Linked DNA regions of Homo sapiens: region 1 is linked to region 2. The links are contacts of gene promoters, found by promoter capture Hi-C in blood cells and fetal thymus (Javierre and others, 2016). All regions are on one chromosome and are shown on one strand. Each heading gives the region's core, a stretch centred on a gene start or on the middle of the fragment in contact. The rest is flanking DNA. Distances are from core to core; before and after follow the strand shown.

Evidence for each region. Contacts are between HindIII fragments. The CHiCAGO score rates a contact against its expected background, and 5 or more counts as called.
Region 1: a contact is called between the fragment with the promoter of KLK6 here and a fragment that was not itself captured in region 2, in 2 of 17 cell types (M1 macrophages and M0 macrophages). The highest score is 9.1, in M1 macrophages.

What each region holds. Positions count from the first base shown.
Region 1 is chr19:50,968,341-50,975,162 of GRCh38, forward strand. KLK6 (kallikrein related peptidase 6) reads right to left here and starts at 1,251. Exons shown (of 7, transcript NM_002774.4): 1 at 1,150-1,251; 2 at 201-251. It overlaps LOC105372442 (a long non-coding RNA gene), which reads left to right. Exons shown (of 7, transcript XR_007067308.1): 4 at 1-13; 5 at 4,620-4,720; 6 at 4,841-4,993; 7 at 6,320-6,386. The HindIII fragment of the contact is 4,765 bases long and covers 1-4,139 here.
Region 2 is chr19:50,533,126-50,540,310 of GRCh38, forward strand. All of the region lies in intron 2 of LRRC4B (leucine rich repeat containing 4B), which reads right to left. It overlaps LOC124904747 (a long non-coding RNA gene), which reads left to right. Exons shown (of 3, transcript XR_007067300.1): 3 at 936-1,706. Among named protein-coding and RNA genes, the nearest start is that of ASPDH, 23 kb to the left of the region's middle. RefSeq lists an enhancer at 1,527-1,616. The HindIII fragment of the contact is 4,058 bases long and covers 2,393-6,450 here.

The DNA.
Region 1 (6,822 bases), core at 1-2,500, 430 kb after region 2:
CCAGTAACCCATGGTGAGATTCTGATTAGATCTTTCTACTTTCTTGGGCACTGATTTGCCTTCCTGTCGACAGGAGAGGGTTACCCTAGGGGGCCCTAGCGTTCTTCCTCTGTATGGGAGTTTTCCTCGGAGCCTGGCTCTGTGCGCAATGGCCACCCACCCCGCCCACCCGGCAGGTTCTGTGATGTCTGTGATCTCACCTGCTGCAGGCCTCCGGGCTCCGGGGATTCTTGAGTCGGGGGAAGGAACAGCTTTGAGACGAGGAGGCAGAAAGAGTTAGAAATGCGGGGAGCCGTGAGGAGAGAAGACACTCAGATGCAGTGGCAGAGCCAAGCGGAGGACGCAGGGGCCGCAGAGCCCAGGGCTGCAGGGACTGCCAGACACACACCCCCAGCTCCCAGGCCTCCCTGGAAGAGGCTGGTTCTGTCCCCAGATGCTTCTGGAACGTCCTTTTAACCCCTGTCTCTCAGGTCCCTGAGCCAGGAGACTGGCTACACCCTTTTCCTCCTTACCCAGGCCTCCCACACACATTCCTCCCGCCCCCACGCTCTGCTCTTGGTGACCCCTGACCAGGCCTCCAGGGAAGGGAGCACTGGTCCCTGAGTGCAGTGAGGGCCTGGACTCCTGGGTCTGAGGGAGGAGGGGCTTGGGGGCCTGGACTCCTGAGTCTGAGGGAGGAGGGGCTGGGGGCCTGGACCCTTGCGTCTGAGGGAGGAGGGGCTTGGGGCCTGGACTCCTGGGTCTGAGGGAGGAGGTGAGAACTTGGACTCCTGGGTCTGAGGGAGGAGGGGCTGGGGGCCTGGACTCCTGAGTCTGAGGGAGGAGGTGGGAACTTGGACTCCTGGGTCTGAGGGAGGAGGGGCTAGGACCTAAACTCCTGGGTCTGAGGGAGGAGGGGCTGGGGCCTGAATCTGAGGCAGAGGAAGTTCTAGTCGGCTCAGTCCTTAGACCTCCGGGTTTTGGAGAAAGAAAGTGTCTGAAGACAAATTCCGGCCTCTGGGGCAAGCAGATGGTGCCCCAGGCCTCCCTGCACCCCCAGCACTCTCTGTGCCACCCAGGGACCTGCAGGCCCTCACTCCGGGCTCTAGAGCCCTCCGGCACTGGGAAGCAGCCTGCCCAGGTTCAGTGCGGTTGGGGTGACTCACACACCTGCCCGTAGGTCCCTCTGTGTGCTGCCTGCCGACCTCTGTGTCCCCAGGAGAGAGCGAGCCAGCCAGCCGGGGAGACAGCTACAGCGTGTGTCACCACACTGGCCCCCGCCCCTGCCCCGGGCTGGGGAGCAGGCCCAGGCGCGATGGGGAAAGGGCCCAGGAACAATCGGGCTTTGTCCGCCCCCAGCACCCCAGTGCCATGCTCCCAGCAGCTCCGGCCTCAACCTCTCTTCCGGCGGGCAGGCGGGAGGGCGGTTACATCAATGGCTTCCTTTTGTCCCTGTCTGACAGTCCTCCTTTGCAGTCTCTGACTGCCCACCTGGCCCTGACTGGAGATTTCGGCACTCCACATCCTCCTGGTCCTTCTCCTCCAAGTCTGCCCACCCCTGAGGTCTCTTGCTCCATCTGTCTCCCTGGCCATGGAGGGGAGGGAGCTTCCATCTCTCTCTCTCTCCCATCTCAGTCTCTGTATTTGTGTCTCTCTCCCTCTTTTTTTCTCTCTCTCCCTTCCTCTCTCCCTTCCTCTCTCCCTTCCTCCCTTCCTTCCTTCCTTCTTTCTTTCCTTCCTTCTTTTCTTTCTTTCTTTCTTTTTTTTTGACGGAGTCTTGCTCTGTCACTCAGGCTGGAGTGCAGTGGTGTGATCTCAGTTCACTGCAACCTCCGCCTCCTGAGTTCAAGCAGTTCTCCTGCCTCAGCTTCCCAAGTAGCTGGGATTACAGGCACCCACCACCACGCCCGGCTAAATGTTTTTTGTATTTTTAGTAGGGAAGAGGTTTCACCATGTTGGCCAGGCTGGTCTCAAACTCCTGACCTCAGGTGATCCACCCACCTTGGCCTCCCAAAGTGCTGGATTACAGGTGTGAGCCACTGTGCCCGGCCTCTCTCCCTTTCTTTCCCCTTGATTCTCTGACTCTCCGTGCTTATCTTCTCCTGGGTCTCTTCTTAGATTTCCCCGGGGGTAGCACTGTGTGTGCCCAGAAGGGAGTCAGTTTCCCCAGGAAGTAGCGGGGATGATTCCCGAGCGATGAGGAAGCTAGCAGGATGGAAGAGGACTTGAGGACTTATTGATGAGATGCGGACACACAGCGAGAGGCATGGAGTTAAGCAGAAATCGGAGAGCACTTGGGAACGACGTGGGGCTGTGATAAGATGGTGGTGCTGGGCAGTAGCAGAGGGATCTGGGAAGATTTAGGGAGGTGTCTTTGAACTTGGGCCTAGAAAGCTGAGCCAGGCGTAGGTCAGGAGGAAAGGCCGTGAAAATGCCTGGCCTGGGTGCACATGGGAAACCACAGGCAGTGGTTGGGGTGGTTGGTATGGGCTGGAGGGTGAGGGTGTGTGCGTGGCAGAGTGGAGAGAAATGAGGAGGGGGAAGTCACTGCGTAATAAGGACAATGATAGGAATGAAGTCTGGCTCAGCACCTGCTTGGGCTGGGCACTACAGGTAACTTAAAAAAAAAAGTTCTTTTTTCTTTTGAGACAAGGTCTTGTTCTGTCGCCTAGGCTGGAGTGCAGTGGCACGATCCTTGCTCGTGGCAGCCTCAACCCTCCTGGGCTCAAGCGACCCTCCCGCCTCAGTCTTCCCAGGAGCTGGGACCATAGGCATGAGCCACTGTTCCCAGCCAACCCTTTTCTTTGTCTTGCATTGAATCTAATTGTCATCTTGCATTGTGCACCCCCCATCACTCCAGGGATGAAGACTACTTCGGTATTCAGTATACTCTCCGGGTGCTCCCTCTCACATTTGGTCCCCACTGACCTCAGCACCTTCTTCTCAGGACGTGCTATCTTCACAGACAGCAAGTCTGATGTTGCACAACCCAGTGACCAGGCCCTATCCCTCTGCCTCCTCTCTCTGGGGGGTCCCTTCCTCTCTGTACCCACACCCTCAACCCCAACTCAGAGCTGCACCTCTCCCACCTGGACCAGGATCCCTCTGTTCTCTGTATCCCTTGCCCCAGAGAGACCTTCCTGTGCCTTGTGCTGACCTTGCCCCTCCTCTCACAGACGTGCCCTGGGTCCCCATCTCCCTTGGGACCAAGTCCCAGCCCCCCAGCCTGGCATTTGAGGACCTTTAGCATCCAGGGAAGTCCTGGCCAATGAAATGTGATGCCAAGCACGCATGCACATTTACATTTTCCAATCACCATACTTTTTTTTTTAAGTCAGAAGATTTTTTAAGTGTCCTTACCACAAAAAATAAGGGTGTAAAATAATGCATATGTTAAATAGCTTGGTTTAGCCATTCCACAACATATACATACATATATCAAACATGATGTTATACACCAGAAATATATACAATTTTTACTTGTCAATTAAAAAATAAATTTAAGGCCAGGCATGGTGGCTCATGTCTGTAATCCCAGCACTTTGAGAGGCCAAGGTGGGTAGATAGCTTGAGTCCGGAAGTTCATGACCAGCCTGGGCAACATAGTGAGAAACCATCTCTGCAAAAAGTAAAAAAATTAGCCAGATGTGGTGGTGCACACTTGTAGTCCCAGCTACTCCGGAGGCTGAGGCGGGAGAATTGCTGAGCCTGGGAGGTCGAGCCTGCAGTGAGCTGTGACTATACCACTGCACCCCAGCCTGACATGGCTGGGCAAGGTGGCTCATGCCTGTAATCCAAGCACTTTGGGAGGCAGAGGTGGGAAGATCACTTGAGCCTAGGAGTTCGAGACCAGCCTGGACAATATAGTGAGACCCTATCTCTAAAAAAAAAAACAAAAAAAAGAAAAGAAAAAAATTACCTAGGTGTGGTGGCACACATCTGTGGTCCCAGCTATGCAGAAGGCTGAGGTGGGATAGTTGCTTGAGCCTGGAGGCCCAGGTTGCAGTAAGCCATAATCACGCCACTGCACTTCAGTGTGACAGAGCCAGACCCTGTCAAAAATTTTTTTAAAAGGAGTCCTGAGTGGTGAGTGGCCCTCACACTGCATGACACAGCTATGTCTACGTCTCCGTGTGGCTCCAGCTTTCTAGAACACATCAAGCTTCCCTGACCCATGCCATGCCCTCTGGCCTCTGGCCCTTCACTGAATGCTATTCCCTCTTCTTCTTGAGATGGAGTCTCGCTCTGTCGCCCAGGCTGGAGTGATGTGGCGCGATCTCTCTTCGCCTGCTGGGTTCAAGCAATTCTCCAGCCTCAGCCTCCCGAGTAGCTGGGATTACAGGCACACACCACCATGCCTATATTTTTAGTAGAGATGGGGTTTCACCATGTTGGCCAGGCTGGTCATGAACTCCTGACCTCAGGTGATCTGCCTGCCTCGGTCTCCCAAAGTGCTGGGATTACAGGCGTGAGCCACCGTGCCTGGCCTATTCTCTCTTCTTAGCATGTTTTCCCCACCTTTTCCTGGCAATAACCTGTCCTTCAAGTCTTTACTTGGACATTACCTCCTCCAGGAAACCTTCCCTGAACACCACCCAGCTGCCACCTGCTGTAGTTGGATTACTCATTCTCTCACGTAGGTTCCCACAGCAGGTGTCTCCCTCAACCCAACCTGGACGGGGGGCCACCTGGATTGACATTCGTCATCTCTTCCACTGGACCGTGAGCTCCTTGAGGGCAGGTACGGGACTGACTCATCCCTGTGTCCCAAGCAACCACACAGGACCTTGCCCAGAAGAAGCCTTAGGCAAGACTGACCAAATGACTAAATGACTTTATCACACCCACTCCCATTTTACAGATAAGAAAACTGAGGCTCAGAACGGGAAGTTCATTGCTCATCATCAAACATCCAGGAAATGGTGGAGCCTGAATGGGAACTCAGCTTCCAACATGGCGTGGATGTGGCCCATCCCTTGGTGGCCTGGCTGGGTCTATCTTATGACAGTACGAGGTGAGTGAACTTGGGAGGAATTGTTGAGAGCTGGGTGGGGAAAGAAGGGAGGTGTTAGGCTGTGGGGAGTGGAGGGACTTTGAAGAGAAAGAAATTTCTAACTCTACCTCTTCTCTGGTGACCTTCATGGTTTGCCATCTCTGCATACTTTGAATGCTTATTTACTGGATAGTTTGCTCCAGATTGTCTTGCTCTGCAAAACTCTTCACTAAATAAATTCTTCTGTCTCGGTGCAGTGGTTCACACCTGTAATCCCAGCACTTTGGAGGGCTGAGGTGGGAGGATTACTTGAGCTCAGGAATTAGAGACCAGCCTGGACAACATAGTGAGACCCCGTCTCTACTAAAAAAAAAAAAAAAAATCAGCCCAGGCATGGTCCCAGCTACTCGAAAGGCTGAGGCAAAAGGATTGTTTGAGCCCAGGAGACTGAGGCTGCAGTGAGCTATGATCATGCCACCAAACTCTAGCCTGGATGATAGAGCAAGACCCTATGTGAAAAAAAGAAAAAAAAAATTATAAGGAAACTTCATGAGACTGTAAGCAGAAAAAAGTGCCAGAAGTCATAAACAATAAAAACCAATGCCTGGGCCAGGCGCGGTGGCTCATGCCTGTAATCTCAGCACTTTGGGAGGTCAAGGCGGGCAGATTGCCTGAGGTCAGGAGTTTGAGGACAGCCTGGCCAACGTGGTGAAACTTGGTCTCTACTGAAAATACAAAAATTAGCCGGGCATGGTGGCAGGCACCTGTAATACCAGCTACTCAGGAGGCTGAGGCAGGAGAATCACTTGAACCTGGGAGGCAGAGGTTGCAGTGAGCTGAGATCGCGCCATTGCACTCCAGCCTGGGTGACAAGAGCAAGACTTTGTCTCAAAAAAAAAGAAAAACTAAACTAAACTAAACTAAACTAAAACCAATGACCATTGAAGGAAGGCTTACCTCGTGCCACACAATGTTTGAGCACTTTCTGTATATTAACTTATTGAATCTCTGTAATAACCCTAGAAAGTAGGTGCTTTTTCTCCCATTTCAAGGATGAAGGAACAGGGACAGGGGAAGTAATGAGCTTAAAGGAAAATAGCTTGTAGGGACTAGAACTGGGATTTGAACCCAAGAAGCCAAGATCCAGAGCTAGTCCCTTAACTACCACACTATACTGCTTACCCAAAGAAAAATGAATTACTTAAAAAAAATCAACATTAGTACCATCTCAGTCATTGCAAACCAATCTACCTGTAGCTTGCGTATAGGAGAGCAGAGGGCCAGGGCCAGGGATCTCCAGGCTGACTTAGTGCAAATGCAATGTTTTGTTACTTTTTAAAATTCCAGATTGAATGTTGGAGTGCCTTGCAGAAGAGAGAGAAAATGTTGCTAAAACTTCAGGGGAATGACTGGTCGAAAATGTTTGACATTCTTAAACTTGACAGGCCCAGAAACAGAAGGGGCTGGGGACCTGGGCTCCTGGGTCTGAGGGAGGAGGGGTTGGGGCGGGGGGTCTGGACTCTTGGGTCTGAGGAAGGAGGGGCTGGGGGGGAGCCTGGACTCCTGGGTCTGAGGGAGGAGGGGTTGGGGCGGGGGGTCTGGACTCCTGGGTCTGAGGAAGGAGGGGCTGGGGGGGATCTGGACTCCTGGGCCTGAGGGAGGAGGGGCTGGGGGGAGTCTGGATTCCTGGGTCTGAGGGAGGAGGGGCTGGCGGCGGGGAGCGGTCTGAACTCCTGGGTCTGAGGGAGGAGGGGCTGGGGGGAGTCTGGACTCCTGGGTCTGAGGAAGGAGGGGCTGGGGGCGGTCTGGACTCCTGGGTCTGAGGGAGGAGGGGCTGGCGGGGGGGGGGG
Region 2 (7,185 bases), core at 3,172-5,671:
TCCTTGTCTTTTAACTGGAAGTTTAGCTCATTTACATTTACTATAATTACTAATATATTTGAAATTCTTCCTATAATGTTATTTTGTGCTTTTTAATTGTCCTGATTTTTATAGCTTATTCTTTCCCCTTTCCTGTCTTCTTTGTATTGACTGAATTTCTTATGATTCCATTTCTTCTCTCTACTGTATTAGAATTTATATATTTTCTCATTATTTAGTGGTTACCCTTAAAATTTAACATGCATACCTAAAGACCAAAGCCAGTTAATTCTTCTCTTCTCCTCCCAAATAATACACAGACCAAAGACCAGTTAATTCTTCTCTTCTCCTCCCAAATAATACAAATACCAAAGACCAGTTCATTCTTCTCTTCTCCTCCCAAATAATACAAAGACCAAAGACCAGTTCATTCTTCTCTTCTCCTCCCAAATGATACAAAGACCAAAGACTAGTTAATTCTTCTCTTCTCCTCCCAAATAATGCAAAGCTGATCTCATCTCTGACTCTAAAACAAAGAGACATCCTGGTCAGCTTCCCAATAAGGTAAAAGGGGGGGAATCATAATTTGTTAACTGCCGATTATTGCCAGAGCTGTGCTAAATGCTCTGAGGTATGATCTCATTTAATCTTTGTGGAAATTCTGTCACATGGGGGTTATCAAGCACATACCCCTGCTCCCTTCATATCTGGTGGTTCATAGCTGAGAAAATGAAGGTTCAGAGAAGTAAAGTCACTTGTCCCCAGTCTCACAGGCTCCAAAGTTGCAGAACCAAGACTCAACGTCTCCTTCTCCTGAGCACAGACATGGGAGTCTCCACCACACCTACCCACCCTAAACTGAAACAGTTGGGCTGTCTGTGGGCTTCACAATGCTTTTTGAGCTGTGGGGCCCATTCATTCTTACATTACCATGTATTGTTTCGCTCATTTGACAGGTTATTTTTTGAGAGCTGCTATGTGTCAAGTGTCATACTGGGCTCTGGGGATCCAGCTGTGGACAAGACAGACAAAGCCCTGTCTTCCTAGATCCTGGCCTCAGAGAAGAAGAGAGACACTAAACAAAACAATTATGCCAACAATCATTTAACCAGCAAAGGTGTACACAGATCGTGGAGGCTGCCCTGGTTGCAGGGGGAGGCAGGCCTGGGGCCCCTCCAAGGCCTGATTTGAAACACCCTAGACCAGATCACCTCTGAAGTTGTGAGTGTCATCACCCTCATGGCCCTGACACAGAGTAGGATGGGCAAGGTGGGGATTGGTTCTTGACGCAGGTAAATCCTCCTGCCCCCTCACCCTAACATCTTTAGCCTGACGAAGATGTTGACATTTTGTCCTACAGTAGAGGACCTAGGCCTGGGGCCACCTCTGACAGCCACATAGCTGCCCACACTTCCAAGTTCCCTGGATCTTCAGCCCCCATCTGCTGAGCCCACCTCCACCTATGCTGGGCTCTGGGACAGATCTCAATGATGCAGATGTGAATCCGGCAAAGGGACGTGGCCCCCATCAATGACTGCCTTCTAACCCCGATGGGGACTTTCCTTTTATCCTGCAACTTGGCCTGTGTAGGGGGACTTTCCACTTTGGTTGTGGTAGGTAAATATTACTAAAGCTGAAAAAAATCCCACTGAGATCTGTTGGGGTTTTTAAGAAAATAAATTGTGAAGAAATTCCTTATTAAAAATGTAACTGTGGTAAGAAAACAATTAAGTGAACTGTTCATCTTAACATTATAAATTGTATTTATTTATATTTATTTATTTATTTGAGACAGAGTCTTGCTCTGTCACCAGGCTGGAGTGCAGCGATCTCAGCTCACTGCAACCTCTGCCTCCCGGGTTCAAGTGATTCTCCTGCCTCAGCCTCCCGAGTAGCTGGGATTACAGGCGCCTGCCACCACACCCAGCTAATTGTTTGTATTTTTAGTAGAGACAGGGTTTCACTGTGTTAGCCAGGATGGTCTCGATCTCCTGACCTCATGATCTGCCCGCCTTGGCCTCCCAAAGTGCTGGGATTACAGGCGTGACCCACCACGCCCGGCCTGTTTATTTATTTATTTATTTTTAAGACAGGATCTTGCTCTATTGCTCAGGCTGGAGTGCAGTGGCATGATTTCAGCTCACTGCAGCCTCCGCCTCCTGGGTTCAAGTGATTCTCCCACCTTAGCCTCCTGAGTAGCTGGGATTGCAGGTGCAAACAACCACACCAGGCTAATTTTTGTATTTTAGTAGAGACAAGGTTTCACCAAGTTGGCCGGGCTGGTCTCCAACTCCTGACCTCAGGTGATCTGCCTGCCTCTGCCTCCCAGAGTGCTGGGATTACAGACGTGAACCACTGCACTCGGCCTGTTTTTATGTTTTGAATATAATGAGTCAATCACAAAAGTTTAGCAAGCTTACTGTTGTTTGTGTGTGTGTGTTAATTTTTTTACATTCAGATTTTAAAAACCGTTATTTGTCACATCAACTGTCTTTATGATGACTTCTCATATTTCTTGCTTGTCCCTGAGACAAGGAACTTGTGCCTCCCTCTCCAACAGGGACTTCCCTGATGCCATGACTGGCAGCACTGCAGGGGCCGTTGTGGGCCCCTGATTCTCACACTGACCCGGCTCAGGCCTAGACGTCCCTGTCTCCCTCCTCCCATTCATCCTCCTGGGAGTGGCCTCCTGAGCCCTTCTGGGACCAGGCCCTGGCCTGGGTGGAAAGTCTGGCTGGATGGCTACCCGCCTCCCACCCTTCCCCACCACCAGGAGCCCAGAGAGGCATCTGAACCTGGGTGTAAACAACAAGGGGATGAGATCTATATCAGAGGCATGTGCAAGACCAAGCAAGGCAGCAGGACTTTGCCTAAGGCACCTGCGGGTGGGGTGGGAGAGTGGGGTTAAGCTGAGGCACAGGCCATGGGCCTACACCGCTTCCTGGGCAGCCTTCCCTGGCCTCCCCTCACTATGTTCAGCTCAGCAGCCCCCCGCCAGCTCGTGCACGCTGCTACTGGACTTGTTTACCTTCCTTTTTTTTTTTTTTATGATGGAGTCTCGCTCTGTCGCCCAGGCTGGAGTGCAATAGCATGATCTCAGCTCACTGCAACCTTCGCCTCCCAGGTTCAAGCGATTCTCCTGCCTCACCCTCCCGAGTATCTGGGATTACAGTAACACATCACCACACCTGGCTAATTTTTGTATTTTTAGTAGAGATGGGGTTTCACTACGTTGGTCAGGCTGGTCTCAAGCTCCTGACCTCAAGTGAGCACCCGCCTCAGCCTCCCGAAGTGCTAGGATTACAGGCGTGAGCCACTGTGCCCGGATGAGACTTGCCGACTTTCTGAACGACCTCTTTCTGCACGCAGTGTCGAGAGGGCAGGGATCTCTGTATGTCCTGCTCTCTGGGCCTCGGGTGGTGCCTGGCACACACTAGGTGCTCAATAAACAAATCAGGGCTGCACTGAATGCTGCAGATGGATTAGCCGGGGCTGTTCAGACACAGGAGGGACAGCCCATGCAGGGAGAAAGATGCACGGGTCTCAGCTCAGCTCCTAGACTCGCCACGGGGTGGTGACGAGACCACGGCATCCTTGTGAGGATTAAACTGTCTCGATATCTGTAAGCCATGGAGAAGAGCGCCTGGCACAGGGCAAGCACATCTGTCTGTGACTATTTAAAGGCAGGGCAAGTTTCTGGAAGGGTGGGAAGGAAGGGGCTGGGGTAGCTTCTGGTGCCCAGTAGAGGGTGCCCCTGAGCTTGGTGTAGCTGGGAGCGCCAGGCATACTCATCCTGATCTGAGATGGGGACAGGGTGGCTTGCAGAAAGGTGTCCCCTAGGAGGAGTTGGTGTGGCGACTCCAGCTGGGTGTGGTGGCAGGGGTGTGTGGGTACAGGCTACATCTGGGAGGCTAGGAAGAAGCTGGGGCTTCCAGATGAGCAAGGACAAGGCCAGAGCCAGGCTGGGCTGTGGGGATGTAGACTGGGACTCAGTGGCAGTTCTGAGACTGAGTCACCAGGGTGCAGCGCCAGGGATAGCTACGAATTAGGAAGCATTACGAATCGCGTTGAAAAAACCAAGTTCTGCAGCCAGCCTGCCTGGGCCGAGTCCCAGCTCCGTTACTAACCATGGGACCAGGACCGTTTGCAAGTGTCTTAACTCTCCTATGCCTCAGTTTCCTCATCTGTAACATGAGAAGAATAGGACCTACTCAGGGGGCTGTCGTGAGGCTGAAATTCACTGACCCTGTAAAGGGCTTGGAGCAATGCTGGGGGCCCGACTGACATTCTCCCGCCCACCCTCGCTGAGCTGTAGAAATAATTGGTCTATTTTCTAGACGAGAAGGCAGGCTCAGAGAGGTGACTCAACGCCTTAGCGTCATTCGTGGAGGGGAGAACGCGGGTCTTGTGCCTCTCAGGACTCGCAGGCTGCTCAACAGAGATGTGGGACTGATACTCCCACCCAGCAGCCTGTCCCGAGGCTCAGGGGCCATGTGGCTTTGCAGGACGCCAAGCAATTCTACGCCTTTGTCAATTTAACTTTAACAGGTGTGAGCCACCGCGCCCGGCCGACTGTTCTTTTCTGTAAGTGTGCTGTGAGTCATCATGAGAAAAAGTTAAGAAGAAACTGACAAAGTATGGGAAATCCTATTTGAAAAGGGTAGAAACTGAGGCTCGGAGTGGTGACAAGGATTATGTGGGCCCCGAGATGGCGCTGCTGAGGGAATGAAGAGGATAACTCAGCTGGAATGAGAGCCAGGGAGGCCGCAGTTAGACACGAAGTCTCAGCAGCCCGGGAACGGACGGCAGAGGGCGCACTGCTCCCTCCTATCCAGAGGACCTCCTGGCTGCTGGTCGCAGGCCCGCGGCTGGGGAATGTCCCAGTTGACCTCAAGAGAGGTCAGCTCCTAGATTCCCCTCTACAGATCCTCCCTTCCGCCATTTTCTTTCTTTCTTTCTTTTTTGCCTTTTTTGAGATGGAGTCTCTCTCTGTTGCCCAGGCTGGAGTGCAGTGGCACAATCTCAGCTCACTGCAACCTACCTCTGCCTCCGGGTTCAAGTGATTCTCCTGCCTCAGCCTCCTGAGTAGCTAGTACTACAGGCACGCACTACCACTCCCAGATAATTTTTGTATTTTTGGTAGAGACGGGGTTTCGCCATGTTGGCCAGGCTAGTTTCCAATTCCTGACCTCAGGTGATCCAACCGCCTCGGCCTCCCGAAGTGGTGGGATTACAGGCGCGAGCCACCGCGCCCGGCCCTCCCACCGTTTTCTTCCTTAAAGGGCTCTAACTGGGAAAAGTCTGTCCAATCAAAAGCTCCATGTTTCATGCCCCTGGAGGGATCAGCCGCCTGGAAAATGCGAACTAGTGGGTAATTTAAAAGCTATTCTTGGTATTTGCCTTGATAATGCACTATGGCCGGGGTTTTTATTTGGTTAGTTTGGGTTTTGTCTTGTTTTTTTTTTTTTTTTTTTTTTTTTTTGAGACAGAGTCTTGCTCTGCCACCTAGGCTGGAGTCCAGTGGCAAAATCACAGCTCACTGCAGCCTCTGCCTCCTGGCCTCATGCAATCTTCCCACCTCAGCCTCCCAGGGATCTGGGACTACAGGTGCGTGCCACCACACCTGGCTAATTTTTGTATTTTTAGTAGAGATGGGGTCTTGCTATGTTGCCCAGGCTGGTTTCAAACTCCTGAGCTCAAGCGATCCACCTGCCTTGGCCTCCCAAAGTGCTGGGATTACAGGTGTGAGCCACCGTGCTGGGATTACAGGTGCGAGCCACCGCACGCCGCCTTTTTTTTTTCAAGACGGATTCTTGCTTTGTCGCCAGGCTGGAGTGCAGTGGCACGATCTCGGCTCACTACCACCTCTGCATCCTGGGTTCAAGCGATTCTCCTGCCTCAGCCTCCCAAGTAGCCAGGTGCCCGCCACCACACCCGGCTAATTTTTGTATTTTTAGTAGAGACAGGGTTTCACCATGTTGGCCAGGATGGTCTCGAACTCCTGACCTTGTGATCCACCTGCCTTGGCTTCCCAAAGTGCTGGGATTACAGGCGTGAGCCACCGTGCCCGGCCAGGTTTTGTTTTTTGTTTTTGCAACAGAATTACCATCCTGTAGCTGCCCCACTTTGGCTGTCTGGGCCTGGCTTCTCCACACTGACTCTCAGGGTGGGACAGACATATATACCTTCTGAGGCACATGGCAAGCCCATGGGGGCTACAGCTTGCTGGGCGACCTTGGATAAGTCACTCAGAGCCTGTGCCTCCATTTCCACGTCCATAAGATGGGAGAAGTCATCCTGCCCTCACAGGAATAAATGGGGTTAGATGAGCGCTCCCTGACCCCCTGCTCCAGATAAATGCTTTGAAATTTTTGTTTCTTTTTCCTCATTTAGGAAAAGGTGAGCAAATTCCAGTATAGCCTTTTTTTTTTCTTTCCAGCTTGCATAGGATTTTATACTTAGTATTTTTAAAGCTTAATTTGTTCTGATTATAAAAGTTATTGGCTGGGTGTGGTGGCTCACACATGTAATCCCAGCACTTTGGGAGGCCGAGGCAGGTGGATCACAAGGTCAGGAGTTCGAGACCAGCCTGGCCAGCATGGTGAAACCCCGTCTCTACCAAAAATACAAAAATCAGCAGGGCGTGGTGGCAGGTGCCTGTAGTCCCAGCTACTCGGGAGGCTGAGGCAGGAGAATTGCTTGAACCCGAGAGGTGGAAGTTGCAGTGAACCGAGATCGCGCCACTGCACTCCAGCCTGGGGGACAGTGCGAGACTCCATCTCAAAAAAAAAAAAAAAAGTTATTAAATGCTCTCACTGAAGAAAATCTAGAGAATAAAGAAAACATAAAGAAGAAATTAAATATCCCTGTAATACTAATGCAAAGAGAAAAGACCCTGTTGACCTTCCTGGGTGTTTCTCGGTCTTTTAAAATATATTGCTTAAGTTTTAAAAGTGAATTGGAGATCCTATTCACATTCTTTGAAAGCTCAGTATTACGTTTTGAGCATTTCCCCATGTCATCCACTATTATTTGAAACTCTGTTTTAAATAGCTGCATAATATTCCATTGTAATGGGCACAGTGATTCATTGAACCCAGGGGTCCGCAACCCCTAGGCCACAGACCGGTACTGGTGGGTGGCCTGTTAGGAACCAGGCTGCACAGAAGGAGGTGAGCAGCAGGCGAGCGAGCATTACTGTCTGAG